Regions from separate parts of the Homo sapiens genome. Here all the other regions are linked to region 3. The links are contacts of gene promoters, found by promoter capture Hi-C in blood cells and fetal thymus (Javierre and others, 2016). All regions are on one chromosome and are shown on one strand. Each heading gives the region's core, a stretch centred on a gene start or on the middle of the fragment in contact. The rest is flanking DNA. Distances are from core to core; before and after follow the strand shown. Region 1 overlaps LOC105372063 (a long non-coding RNA gene). Region 2 holds the start of LOC124904284 (a long non-coding RNA gene). Region 3 holds the start of GALNT1 (polypeptide N-acetylgalactosaminyltransferase 1). Region 4 has its middle 42 kb from the start of ZNF396.

Region 1 (3,225 bases), core at 419-2,918, 180 kb before region 3:
GAGCTCTTACTGGAGTGCCCTAATGATTCTTGAACCACTCTTGGAAAAACAGATCTCCAGCAGACTTTCAGCTTCTTCAATCTATGGTCTCTGTTCCTGGAGGTGGGCTGAAGCTCCCTAGACAGAAAGGCCAGAAACTGTTACAGTTCTACTAGAAGCTGCCCTTTCAGGTACATTTCTGGTTTCAGCCACTGTTGACAGGGTCCTTGAAGGGTCCAGAAAGAGACTTACGAGGTCCAGGTGAATCTGGATAGCAAAATTTCCTGGCATGTTTTGGAAAGACACGTGGTTCATGGCAGTTACTTCACTCCAGGCTGGAATTCCTGCTCTCTGTGGATAGTGTTCTCTTCTTCCTTTATATTTATACTTATTTCTCTTTCATTTGCAACCCAGTACAGTACCTTTATTAAAATTCAACAGTCATCATGGCTGTGGAGTGAAACAGCAAAACAGTTATTACTCTGAGTTTCCCTCCTCAGAAATCATTTAGGAATGGCAAATTGCAAAACTTCCTTGGGTCATAGATGTCTCCTAAAGGAGGGCAATACTTAATAACATAGTTTTATACATGGAAACATAATGAAATTTCCTAAGTAATTTGCAAGGCTGCTGTAACACTATCATGCACATAGTCACATTTATTTTAAAATAATGCTTTGTTTTATAGAGCACTTAGAGGAACTCAGAATAAGGAGACTGAACTTCTAACATTATTAAAATGTGGCTCCAATTACAGTTAACAAAAGATATTTTCCCTGCTGAAGGAACTGCCTTATAGTGACAGTGACCACCTTTCTATAGTGCTATAGAAAGAGAGACACTCTTTCCTCTGAGATAATGAAGGCTGGAGAGGAATACAGATTTTATACATTTCCAAATTGTTTCCCACACAAGACAGCCAAGGAGCGTAAGTAGTAGATTCTCCTTTTCCTGTATCAGAAATCAACTTACTAATCCTAGCAACAAAATAGCTCACATTTCATAGGCACTTGATACTACTGTGACAAGTGCCTCATACACACCATCCCACTGAATCCTCTCTGCAGACAGGAAGTGCCTGTTAACCATTGAGCTAGGGCTGAGCTCCTCTCCAGGATTCATTCCTTTTGTGCTTCAGAGCATCCTGGAGGCTGGAGGCTTGCTCCTCAGTGGCTTCAGGAGCAGAGGCCTCTCCTAGGTCCTAGGAGTCTGCCATGGGGGCTTCTTCCAGGGCTTCTTTGCCCAGGACCAAGAAAATCTTCATCGAATTGGACAGTATGAAGATCCTTGGTCCCCTTTCCTAGAACTGTTTACAGGGAAGGCTTTGAGTGAACGTGAAGATTGCAATCAGCTGATGACTAAATTAGAGGAGCAGAAAGGAGGCATTAAGTAGAGACGTTTGTGATAGGATAAGACTCTGAAACAGCAACTTCTGATGATGCTGTTCTCAGTAAATTTCCTTCTCACCTCATAGCCTTTCTATCACTCAAGTCATGAGCCTGAAGTGGGTATTGTTTCAAGGGACAGAAAAGCTTAGAGTTTTTCCAAATAGTTTTTTTAACCACATAGTGGGAACAATAGTCTTTAAAACCAATATTTTAAAAATTCCAATAGAACATTTATCTTTTTAAATAGTGGGCTTTTTGAGAAATTTCCTCATTCCTTTCCTTTCTTTTCTTGAGTTATAAAAATTCATCTTTGAAAATTCAAAGCTGACATCTGAAGGATCTCAAATACAAAGTTCATAGCATAAACAATAGTTAGTGGGGAAAATGCATGCTAGCATGAGTTAAAGTGTGACAGGCTAGTAGAATGAGAAAACTAGAAAACGGGAAGGCAGGTGACTAAAGCTTAGGAGCTGGTGGCTTTCTGAGCAGGCACCATTAGATGCCTGCCCAATAGCAGTTCTCTCTTTTTGAAACCAGTCATTGTAATCCAACTCCTTCTCTTTTTATTACCTACTTACATTTCCAGCCTCATTTGTTGCTAGGATGAATGGCCAAGAGATCCAGTTATTAGCAATGAGAACAAAGGAAAAAATGACCTGGAAAGCATTTGGGAAAGACTTTGCTCCTGATAAAAGGAAAGCCCTTTCCCCCTTGCCATTTTCTTCCTGACTTCAATGCAGTTGTGTAAGAAAGTGATGCTTGAAGCTGCACGGTTTGGAAATCATGAGATAATAAAGCAAAAAATGAAATGCAAGCACATTGAGAATGGCAGGTGTGGTAGACAGACTAATGTTCTCCAAAGATGGCCATGTTCTATCCCTGAAACCTGTGACTATGTTATGTTGCCTGGCATGGGGGAATTAAGATTGCAGATGGAATTAAGGTTGCTAATTAACTAACTTTAAAAATAAGAAATTATCTTGGATAATCCTGGTGGGTCCAGTGTAAGCACAGGGTCTTTAAATGGAAGAGGGAGGCAGAAGAAGAGGTTGGAGTCAGAGAAACGAATGTGCTACATTGCTGGACGTGAAGGTGGAAGAAGGGGCCATGAGCCATGGAATGTAGGCGATCTCTAGAAGCTGGAAAAGACAAGGAAACAGATTCTCTCATGTAGCCTCTAGAAGGCTCCAAGGCTGTTGGCACAGCCCTGACAACACCTTTGTTTTAGCCAAGTTAGACCATTTTACACTTCTAACTTCTAGAACTGTAAAACAATAAATTCATGCTGTTTTAAGTCACCACGTTTGTGGTAATTTGTAACAGCAGCAGTAGGAAATGAATACAGCCACTCAAGGGCAAAACACCTCCCAGCCCCCCATGCAGCAAGGTGTGACCATGTGTGTAAGTAACTTCCCACTCATATCCTGAAAAGAAAGCTCCTTGCTCTCAGCTTACATTTTATTTCTATAAAGTAGAAAATGGTCATGCAAATGATTGGCCTATTTCTACCTGGTAGATGTGAACAACCCTGTAGGGGTTGGCTGAAGCCACAGATAGAATAACCTGGATCCCTGAATAATAGTAAGTTGCAGAGACACATACACTCCTTGTTCACCCACCTACTGAGACTTTCACACCAAGGGGAAATAAACTCTCTGTCTTGTTTAAGTCACTGTTATTTAGCATGTACAGAAGTCTTGTAGCTAATATCCTGTATTTCTCTTGGAAACATAGAATTGAGCAGACAAAAAACTCAGCAAAAATTTAGAAGATTTGAACAATTCAATTAATAAACTGGATTTCTATACAGAATATAGAATATATATTTAATATATACAGAATATACAGAATACTGCAC
Region 2 (3,088 bases), core at 232-2,731, 140 kb before region 3:
ATGATCCAAAACAGAAAAGGTTTTTCAAAAGGCATTTTGAGATAATTCTTAAGATTTCAAGCCTTTGATTTGAAAAGTCTATTTATCTGAATAGTAAGAGTCTCATATTTTCATAGCAGGAAATTATTTCAAGCATTTAATTTAGCAAATGAACTGGAGCCTAAATTAAAGAATTCCAAATTTATTCCTGACCCTGGTTGTTATTGAGGGATAATAAAATATTTCCCTGGTGTCCTGTGAGAGATTGAAGGAATTTTGAGGTCATGATTTATATATTTGCCATCCTCTTTTAAATGGATTCAGCTGTGATGTCTGCAGCACCAGGAGAATTTAAGTGTCTGCCTGAGAGCCAGGACTCTGTCCACGTCAAGCTTTCAGCCAGACCACTTCCCTCAGATCCTTTCTAGTTTTCTCCTTCTTCAGTCCATTCCAATGACCCCTGGTTTTGATGAGGCATAGGACGAGGGGCTACAAGATCAGGAGCACATCTAGCTCTGGCTTCTGAGGCCACATGATCACCTGGGGAGACTGAGACATCCAGGATCCTGGAAGCAGAGCAAAGAGCCATCTGTGAAGAGGAGGAAGAAGACATCTGAAGAAGAAGGTTTTTCTTCAAGAACCACCACACACTTGCCTTCAGATGAAGTTTGAAGCCATTAAGCTTCCCCTTCTTCTTAAAGCTCTCCTTCCCTATTTTTCCTGCATGCCCTCGTTTTTATCACTGACAACACATCGTTCCCTGAGTCTCACTGTCTCCCAAAGAGGAGCTTCAGGTTCATCTTTGTCTCCCCAAGTCTGAAAATATCAGATAATATGCTTGCAACTTCATCTTGATGGCTTAATTCCTGCTCCTGTCATTTACACTTCACTGCCCTGTTTTGTCTCCTTCATCCTGCCCTGCCCAGCCCTGGGAACTCTGTGTCTCCCATATCACTCCCCTGCTGGGGACCTGAATGGCTCCCTACTGCCTCCCTAAGCCAGTCCAAGTTCCCCTGGCTTCCTGGGCCTTCCAGAATCTGTCCTGGCCTTATCTACCCCCACTTACTTCCCAACTGGGAGGTGTTGTGGCCATGGCAGAGGAAGGGATAAAAGACCAGTCATTCAGCCTTGTGTGCCTGTAAAGCAGTGTACCTCTAACAAAAATTTCCTGGCTTAAGAGCATAAAAATAAGTTTTACACAAAATCAATAACAGAAGCACTCAGATTGAAGCATATTTTTAAAGGTATTAGTGGGAGTGATTCAGAGTCAGCAGACCCAGGGTGTGGACATGAGCTCAGAATGGCTTCTCTGGAGCAAAATCTGTGACTTGATCCCGCAAAGCAAAAGCTGCCAGTCCTTTCTCATCACTGTCTCTTTCCTGGTGTGACATGACTATGGTCAGAACTATGTTCTCCAAAAGGATCCACTGAAGTCCTACCCCCAGTACCTCAGAGTGTGACCTTATTTGGATATAAGGTCATTGCAGATGTAATTAGTGAAAATGAGGTCATTAGGGTGGGCCCTAATTTAATATGACTGGTGTCCTTATAAGAAGAGGGAAGAGGCCGGGCGGTGTGGCTCATGCCTGTAATCCCAGCACTTTGCGAGGCCGAGGTGGGTGGATCACCTGAGGTCAGGAGTTCGAGACCAGCCTGGCCAACATGGTGAAACCCCATCTCTACTAAAAATACAAAAAAATTAGCTGGGCGTGGTGGCAGGTGTCTGTAATCCCAGCTACCCGGGAGGCTGAGGCAGGAGAATTGCTTGAACCTGGGAGGCGGAGGTTGCAGTGAGCTGAGATTGCGCCATTACACTCTAGCCTGGGCAACAAGAGTGAAACCCCATCTCAAAAATAAAATAAAATAAAAATAAATAAAAATAAATAAATAAAAAAAAGGAAGATGATGTGATGCGAAGACACAGAGAGAGGCCAGTGTGTGAAAATGGAGGCTGAGATTGGACTTATGTTACCATAAGCCAAGGAATACCTGGGGCTATCAGAATTTGGGAGAAGCAAGGAAGGATCCACCCCTAAGAACTTTAGGGAGGGTATGCCCTGATTGTACCTTGGTTTTAGACATTTAGTCTTCAGAACTGAGAGAATAAGTTTCTGTCATTTCAGCCCAGCCAGTTTGTGGTGCTTTGTTACAGCGGCCCCAGAAAACTGATAAACATGATATGCATATTTTGTTAAAGTCTGTTCACTCCGACTTTGACTTCTACATATCCAAGATAGCAGTCCTGTGTCTGCTATCTGGGACAAAAGCCCACCTGCCCTGTCCTTCTCTCCTGGGCTACCAGGTCCTGCCATGTGTGGGTTTGAAGCTTTGGGAAGCAGACACATTTAATAGATTGAGTTTCATTTTTCCCACAACTTCTCACCCTCACAGAGGAAGGTATAACTCATGCTCACTGTGAAATCAGGGCTGTTCTTGGGCCCCTAGCGAAGTGCTATCCAGACCTGGCTCTGTGACTCTGAGGAAAACGGCAGGAGTGTGAGGCCAGTGCCCTGGATGCAAAGTGCTATCCTTGGGAGAGGCCAAGCAGGGATGGCTGACCGGTGACGATGGTGGCAAGTGACTCCGTCTCTGGACCCTGTCTTTCCTCCTCCCCACACTGTTCAGGGCTCTTGCACAGGCTGTTGCCTCCACTGGGAACTCTCTAACCCGGCTCTTTCTCCTACTTTGTGCCTCGCCTAAGTGTCACCTTCTTCCTTAAGGGAGCGACGTTGTCTCCCCTCCCCATATGCATCCTCCCCAGCCCGTTCTTTGCTTGTCTCATAACATTCATTATTATTCCTCACTATTTTACTTGCTTGCCCACTTGTGGTGAACTGTCTAACAGTGATGCCAGCTTTGTCCCCCATGGGCCCCTGTAGTCTAGTTACTCAGCAGCCAGAGGAATCTGTTGAAACCGAAGTCAGCCCACATCACTCTGCTGTTCAGAACCCTCTGAGGCTCCCCAGACCACTAATAGTAAAAGCCCAGGACCTTACCATGCCTACTGGGGCCCCTGGGTCCAGCCCCAGCTATGTCCCTGATGCATCACCTTGTTCATCACACCAATTCCTTAGTGCCACTGAGCAGGCCAGGTGCTCACCTGAATTGG
Region 3 (3,363 bases), core at 476-2,975:
AAAACCTGGAAAACTGTTTTCCAAAGTGGCTGCACCATTTTACATTTCCATAGGCAACGTATGAGGGTTCTAATTTCTCCATCTCTTCACCAACACTGCTATTGTCTGTCTGTCTTTTGTACTACAGCCAGTGTAGTGGGTGTCAAGAACTTCCTTGTTGTGCTTCTAATTTGCATTTCCCTATTAACTAATGATGTTGAACACCTTTTTATGTAATTGTTGATCATTTAAATATCTTTGGTAAAACGTCTATTCAATTGTTTTGCCCATTTAAAATTGGACTATTAGTCTTATTACTGAGTTGTAAGAGTTCTTCATACATTCTGGCTACAAGTCCTTTAACAGATATATGATTTGCCAATCTTTTCTCCCAAGATAAGAGTATTTTTTAACGATGACAACTTTATTCCAAAGTGAAGTTTCCTTGTGGAACAGTAACAGGCTAGTCATGATTGACTTTGTTTCAAAATATTATATAAGTACTTTTAAAATAGTAACTTTTAACTTTTATTTTAGAATACTTGGAAGATGTAGACAAGCAAAAACAGGATACTAAAATTCCAGAGATAATCTTCAGGTTTTTTTTTTTTTTTTTCGGACAGCCTTTTGGTTATGTGAGAGGTAATATAAATTTAAAAGTGGGACCACTTAAATATTAAGTAATCTCTTATTGCAGCTCTTGGTTGGCAAGCAATAAGACACAAACCTCTGAATTATTTAAGTAGAAAATTAATTTATTAAAAGAATGGTTGGTTATGCCTCGCGTGAGTGACAGAGCCAGGGTTTTGTCTTCTATCTTCAGGGCAGGGTACAGCTGGGTATTGGAATTGTACCAAGCAGTGTTTCCCAAGGGGGCACAGAGGGAGGGCCCCTCTCCGGGCACTGTGCGGGAGCCACTTCCCCAAACAGTCCCCGTTCTGCAAGGGCCCCGGCGTTGCTGCCCCCGAGACCCGGGTGCCTGCCCCGGCGGTGCGGGTCGCGGGCCTCCGCTCTCGCCGTCCTCCCTCAGTCCCGGGCCTCCTGCATCGCGGTCGCCAGGCGCAGGCTCAGCGCGGCTGACAGCGCTCCAGCTCCCGCGCTCGCGGCCGCCTCAGGCAGCCGACCGGGTTGGGGCGGCCCCGCGCTCGGCCCGGGAGCCGATCCGCTGTGAGGGCTCCTCCATCTCCTCCCACCCCGTGACCTGCTCGACGCGCAACAGCCCGAGTTGTCTTTAACTTGCTGCGGCAGCCTCTTTGTCCCGACCCAGGGTCGGGGGCACCTCTCGGCCTGGCCCGGCCCTGCCCGTAGCCGTGTGAGCGGGGGCCGGGACTGGGCGGTCGGTCCGGGAGGGGCGCCGCGCCCGACCCCGGAGTCCCGAGCCCGAGGGGAGCGTCGCGGCCCCGCGGTGGGCTCGCCGCAGCGGAGGGGGCGCGCATCCGGGTGAGCGCCGGCGCCCCCGCCTCCCCCGCGCAGCCGCACGGGCCGCCGCCGCCGCTGCCGCCGAGCACGCAGCGCAGGGAGGACCGCGCCCGAGCGCCTGCGGGCGCCCTGCGGCGCCCGCCGCGCGACGAGCCCCAAGTGAGCGGGCAGGCGGCGCGCATGCGGGGCGGCCCGGAGTAGCGCCGCCCGAGCCCGCGAGCGGGGCGCCCGGAGTAGCCGCCGACCCGAGCCGGGCGCGGAGGCGGGGGCGGGCGCGGCGGAGCGGGGCCCGGCCGGACCCGCCCGCCCGCCGGGGGAGCCGCCGGCAGTGGCCGAGGAGCGCGCGGCGGACGGCGGCCCGAGAGTAGCGCGCTGGCCGCGGGACCGGCCGCGACCGCCGCGGCCGGCCCGGAGGACGCCTGCCGCCGCCGCCGCCGCGCGCCTAGCGAGGTGAGTGTATCGCCCGCGGCTGGGCAGTCCCGGAGCCGCAGCGCTGCGCGCGGGTCGGAGGTGGAGAAAGAGGCCCCGCCGCGGCCGCGTCCCCGGTCCCTTTGTGGCCGGCGCTGCCTGGGGCCGGGGCGCGGGCACGCTCGGCGCGGGTTCGGGTCTGGGACCCCGGTGCCGTTGGACACGCGGCGTCTCTGGTTGGCAGCTTTGGCGAGCAGCGAGTTTCCGTCCTAGTTTGACATTGAGTTAGAACCGTTTTTCTTTAGAAGACGGAAGTTTGTTTTATTGACAAAAATAAAGCTAAATATGGCTTCTGGGTTCGGCCGTGTGGTACTTGCAACCGCGGTGCCAGCCTGACCCTCGCGGCGCCACGGGGGAGGGGAAGACACGCCGGCAGCGGGGGAGGGGGCTTCCCGGCCCGCTGCCCCCGAGGAGGACCCGGACCTAAATTAGCAAATGTTTGTGGTTGGGAAGTAGCGGGCTTTAGGTAATGTAGTAGCTTTTCCGCTTTTCCTGGAAGAATGAATGAATGAGATGTCATTTACTCATCCATAATCAATACGTTGCCCATTTAAGCATTTACCAGGAATTGGGATGATTTGCATTGTCATTGCTTCTCTTATCTGGTCAGCCTTGCTAGATGAGGTTCCCTTACTCCCCAGATTTGTGACCTTGTCCTCATTCTCAAAGCCACTGAGCTAACCAACCCGTCTACCAAACTCACTTGGCATTTTTTTGGTCAAGTGGGCAATAGGCAAAGTAGTCTTTCTGAACTGTTTCTGGAGGGCAGAGAATGTCACTTTGATCATATCTTATGTTTAATACATTGCTTTATAATCGTGTCAAGAACGCTGAGAGTTAGGAGGTCTTGTCATTTCACAGATGAAATAGTGAAGGCCCTAAGAAGTTGCAACTTTTCAGGTCACAATCTGAGCAGCAGAGTTGGGATTCAAACCTAGACCTTGTTAGTCCAGTCCTCTTTACATCACATCTGTGTCCAGACCTGGACTGTCCAGCGTGGGAGCCACTAACCACATGTGACTATTAAAATTAAATTTTAAAAATTCAGCTCCTCGGTCACAGTAGCCACATTTCAAGTGTTCCATAGCTAAATGTGGTTCTTTGCTACAGTTGAACAGCCCTGGTCTAAATTATACATACATTTGTTGTGTCAGTAAATATTTACTGAATGCGATCTGTCTATGAGGCACAGTTTTAAGTTCTGGGTACATGGTGAATAAGGGAGACACAATGTCCTTGCCCTATTGGAATTGACATTTTACATGATCCTTTGAGGATGTTTCCATGGTACTCCGAGTCCTGCTATTCCAAGTGTGGATGGTGTACCAGCAGCATCCCTGTCACCTCAGACTCAAGTAATGCAGAATGTGAAGCCCCGCTGCACATCAACTGAATCAGTATCTGCTTTACCAGGATTTCAAGTTATTTGTGTGCACTTTGAAACCTGAGAAGCCTTTGTTCAGCGTGCTGGTGATAACTGCGTTTAATGACTGCTCT
Region 4 (3,437 bases), core at 346-2,845, 160 kb before region 3:
ATGGAATCATACAGGAGGTACTTTTTTGTCTGGCTTCTTTCATTTGGCATGATAATTTTGAGATTCATCCATCTTGTAGCACGAATCAACAATTCCTTCCTGTTTATTGCTGAGTAGTATTCCACTGTATGGATATACCACAATTTATTTACCCATTCACTGGTCAGTGGACAGTTGAGTTGTTTTCAGTTGTTGGCTATTACAAATAAAGCTTCTATGAACATTTGCATAAAATTGTTTGCAGGAACATATGCTTTCTTTTCTTTTGGGTAAGTACATGGGAAAGAAATGATTGGGTTAGAGGGTAGGTATATGTTTAACTTCTTAAGAAGTTGCCAGACTGTTTTTCAAAGTGTTGGTATAATTTTACATTCCCACAAGCAGTGTAAGAGTTCTAGTTCCTTCAAATCCTTACCAGCAGGTTGTATGATTAGTCTTTTTAATTTTAGCCATTCTAGCAGGAGTGCAGAGGTATCTTATTGTGGTTTTAATTTTCATTTTCCTAATTACAAAGATGTTGGGCATATTTTGCTTATTTGCCATTCATGTATCCTCTTCAGTGAAATGAGTGTTTAAGCCTTTTGCCTACTTTTAAAATTGGTTTGTCTGTTTTTCTTTTATTGTGCTTTGAGAAGTCTACATATATTCCAGATAGAAGTTCTTTATTATATATGTAATTTACAAATATTTTCTCCTAGTCTCTGGCTTGTATGTTCATTCTCATAACAGTCTCTTGAAGAACAACTGTTTTATGGATGAGGTCTACTTTATCAAATTGTTCTTTTATGAAACGCGTCTGTATGTAAAGGAATTGTGTATATAAGAAGTGTGGTGTGTAAGTGTTGTATATAAGTCTTTGCTTAACTCAAGTTTATGATGAACATTTCATGTTTTCTTCTAGAGGTTTTGTGGTTTTAGGTTTTAAATTAAGGCCTATTTACTACTTTTCTACTGCAGCATAACAAATTACCAGAAATGTAGCAGCTTAAAACAATGCAAATTTATTATCTTACTGTTTCTATAGGTTAGAAATCCAGCATGGCATGACTGTATTCTTTGGGCTAAAATCAAGTTATTGGCTAAAGCTGCAGTTCTGTGTCTTTGGGTCCTCTTCCAAGCAAACTAAGGTCTTTGGCCAATTTCAGTTACTTGTGTAATTACTTCAGTAAGTAATTACATTCATTTGGCTTGATAATTTTGAAATTCATCCATCTTGTAGCATGAATCAACAGTTCCTTATTACTTCAAGAAGTAATTACACAAGTAATTGAAGTTGGCCAAAGTAATTACTTATTGAAGTAATTCAATTACTTATGGTCATACGACTGAGATCTCTGTTCCTTGCTGGCTATTAGCCAAGGGCCTTTCTCTCAGCAATTTAAGGCTGTCCGTATTTCTTCTCACATGGCCAAGCTCCATCTTCAAACAAGCAATGGTACACTGACTCTTCATGCTTTGACTCCCTCTAACTTCCATTTCTGTCTTTTTCTTCTGCTTTTAAGGACACATGTGGATTACATTGGAACCACGTGGAAATCCAGGGTAGCCTCCCTATTCTAAGTCAGCTGATTAGTAACCTTAATTACCTCTGCAAAGTCATTTTTGCTATGTAACATATTCAGTCTTGGGGATCAGGGTATAGAAACTTTTTGGTGGACGTAATTCTTCTTACCACAGTCAATGACCCTGATATGGTTTAGCTGTGTGTCCTCACCCAAATCTCATCTCGAATTTTAATCCCCATGTGTTGAGAGAGGGAAGTGACTGGATTATGAAGGCCATTTCCCCCATGCTGTTCTCGTAATAGTGAGTGAATTCTCATGACATCTGATTGTTTTATAAATGGCTATAAATGGTAGTTTTTCCTGCACTCTCACACATTCTCTCTCTCGCCTGCAACCGTGTAAGACATGCCTGCTTCCCTTTCCACCATGATTTTAAGTTTCCTGAGGCCCCAGCCATATGGAACTGTGAGTCAGTTAAACCTCTTTTCTTTATAAATTACCCAGTCCAGGGCAGTTCTTTATAGCAGTGTAAGAATGGACTAATATAGATCCATTTTGTGTTAATATTTATATATAGTGTGAAGTATGAATAGTTCATTTGTTTTCATGTGGATATGCAATTGTTCCAGCATCATTTGTTAAAAAGGCTATCTGCAATGATCTGGATGTGTCCTCCCAAAATTCAGATGTTGAAATTTAATCACAAATCTGACAGTATTGAGAGGTGGGACTTTTAGGAAGTGATTAAGTCATGAGGCAGAGATGCCATGAATGGGATTACTGCCCTTATAAAAGAGGTTGAAGGGAACAGCCTTGACCTGCCATGTGAGGATGCAGTAACAAGGTGCCACCTTGGAAAAAGAGATCATTCCCTCACCAGACACTAAATCTGATAGTGCATTGATTTTGGACTTCCCAGCCTCCAGAACTGTGAGCAATACATTTCTATTATGTATAAATTACTCAGTCTAAGGTATTTTTGTTATAGCTGCCTGAATGAACTAAGATACTTTTTCTCTACTGGATTTCCCTGTACCTTTGTCAAAAATCCTTTGTCAATGTATGTTTGGGTCTATATCTGGACTCTGTATTCTGTTCCATTTATCTGATTGTTTATTGCTATGCCAATACAACACTGTTTTGACTATCACAGCATTACAGTGTCTTGAAGTCTGGTAGAGTTAACCGCAATTTTTCTCTTATTTTTCAAAGTTGTTTGAATATTTCAGGTTTTTGCATTTCTATGTGAATTTTAGAATCAAAATATCAATTTCTATATGAATAATACTGGATTTTGAGATTGAATTGAATATATAGATTAATTTAGGGAGAATTGACATCACAACTATATGTTGTGTTTTCTTACCACCGAACAAAATATAATCTCCTTTTATTTAGATTTTCTTTTATTTATCTCAGCATTGTTTTATATTTTTCAGTGTAGAGCTCTTTCACATCTTTTGTCAGATGTATCCCAAGCTTTTCATTTTTTGGAAACATTGTATTTTAATATCAATATATGATTGTTCATTCCTAGTATATAAAAAAGGAATTTATTTTTGTTTCCGTTTCTTACTTTTCTTTCTTATTGCACTGGCCATAATCTCCTGTGCAATGTTAAATGTTGTCCTTGTCCTGTTCCTAATATTAGGGGAAAGCCTTCAGTCTTTCACCATTAAGTATAATGTTAACTCTAAGTCTTTCATAGATGGCCTTTATCAGGTTGAAGAATTTCCCTCATATTCCTAGTTTGCTAAGATTTGGATTTTTTTTCACAAAAAAACAAACAAAAAAGCCCACAAGAATCAGCTGGGCACAGTAGCTCACACCTGCAATCTCAGCACTGGGAGGCTCAGGTGGGCAGATAGCTTGAGTTCAGAAGTTTGAGACCAGCCTGAGCAACATGACAAAACCCTGTTTTTACCAAAAATA

Evidence for each region. Contacts are between HindIII fragments. The CHiCAGO score rates a contact against its expected background, and 5 or more counts as called.
Region 1: a contact is called between a fragment that was not itself captured here and the fragment with the promoter of GALNT1 in region 3, in 4 of 17 cell types (M2 macrophages, M0 macrophages, M1 macrophages and 1 more). The highest score is 12.6, in M2 macrophages.
Region 2: a fragment that was not itself captured here is called in contact with the fragment with the promoter of GALNT1 in region 3 in 2 of 17 cell types (M2 macrophages and neutrophils); the score reaches 5.7 in M2 macrophages.
Region 4: a fragment that was not itself captured here is called in contact with the fragment with the promoter of GALNT1 in region 3 in 8 of 17 cell types (M2 macrophages, erythroblasts, M0 macrophages and 5 more); the score reaches 10.6 in M2 macrophages.

What each region holds. Positions count from the first base shown.
Region 1 is chr18:35,397,127-35,400,351 of GRCh38, forward strand. LOC105372063 (a long non-coding RNA gene) reads right to left here. Exons shown (of 3, transcript XR_935376.3): 3 at 1-429. Among named protein-coding and RNA genes, the nearest start is that of ZNF396, 21 kb to the left of the region's middle. The HindIII fragment of the contact is 318 bases long and covers 1,510-1,827 here.
Region 2 is chr18:35,437,722-35,440,809 of GRCh38, forward strand. It overlaps LOC124904284 (a long non-coding RNA gene), which reads right to left and starts at 1,450. Exons shown (of 2, transcript XR_007066341.1): 1 at 1,046-1,450; 2 at 1-568. The HindIII fragment of the contact is 1,644 bases long and covers 660-2,303 here.
Region 3 is chr18:35,580,015-35,583,377 of GRCh38, forward strand. It overlaps GALNT1 (polypeptide N-acetylgalactosaminyltransferase 1), which reads left to right and starts at 1,726. Exons shown (of 12, transcript NM_020474.4): 1 at 1,726-1,848. RefSeq lists a silencer at 768-1,467. The HindIII fragment of the contact is 12,017 bases long and covers 1-3,363 here.
Region 4 is chr18:35,417,294-35,420,730 of GRCh38, forward strand. No RefSeq gene overlaps it. Among named protein-coding and RNA genes, the nearest start is that of ZNF396, 42 kb to the left of the region's middle. The HindIII fragment of the contact is 2,773 bases long and covers 210-2,982 here.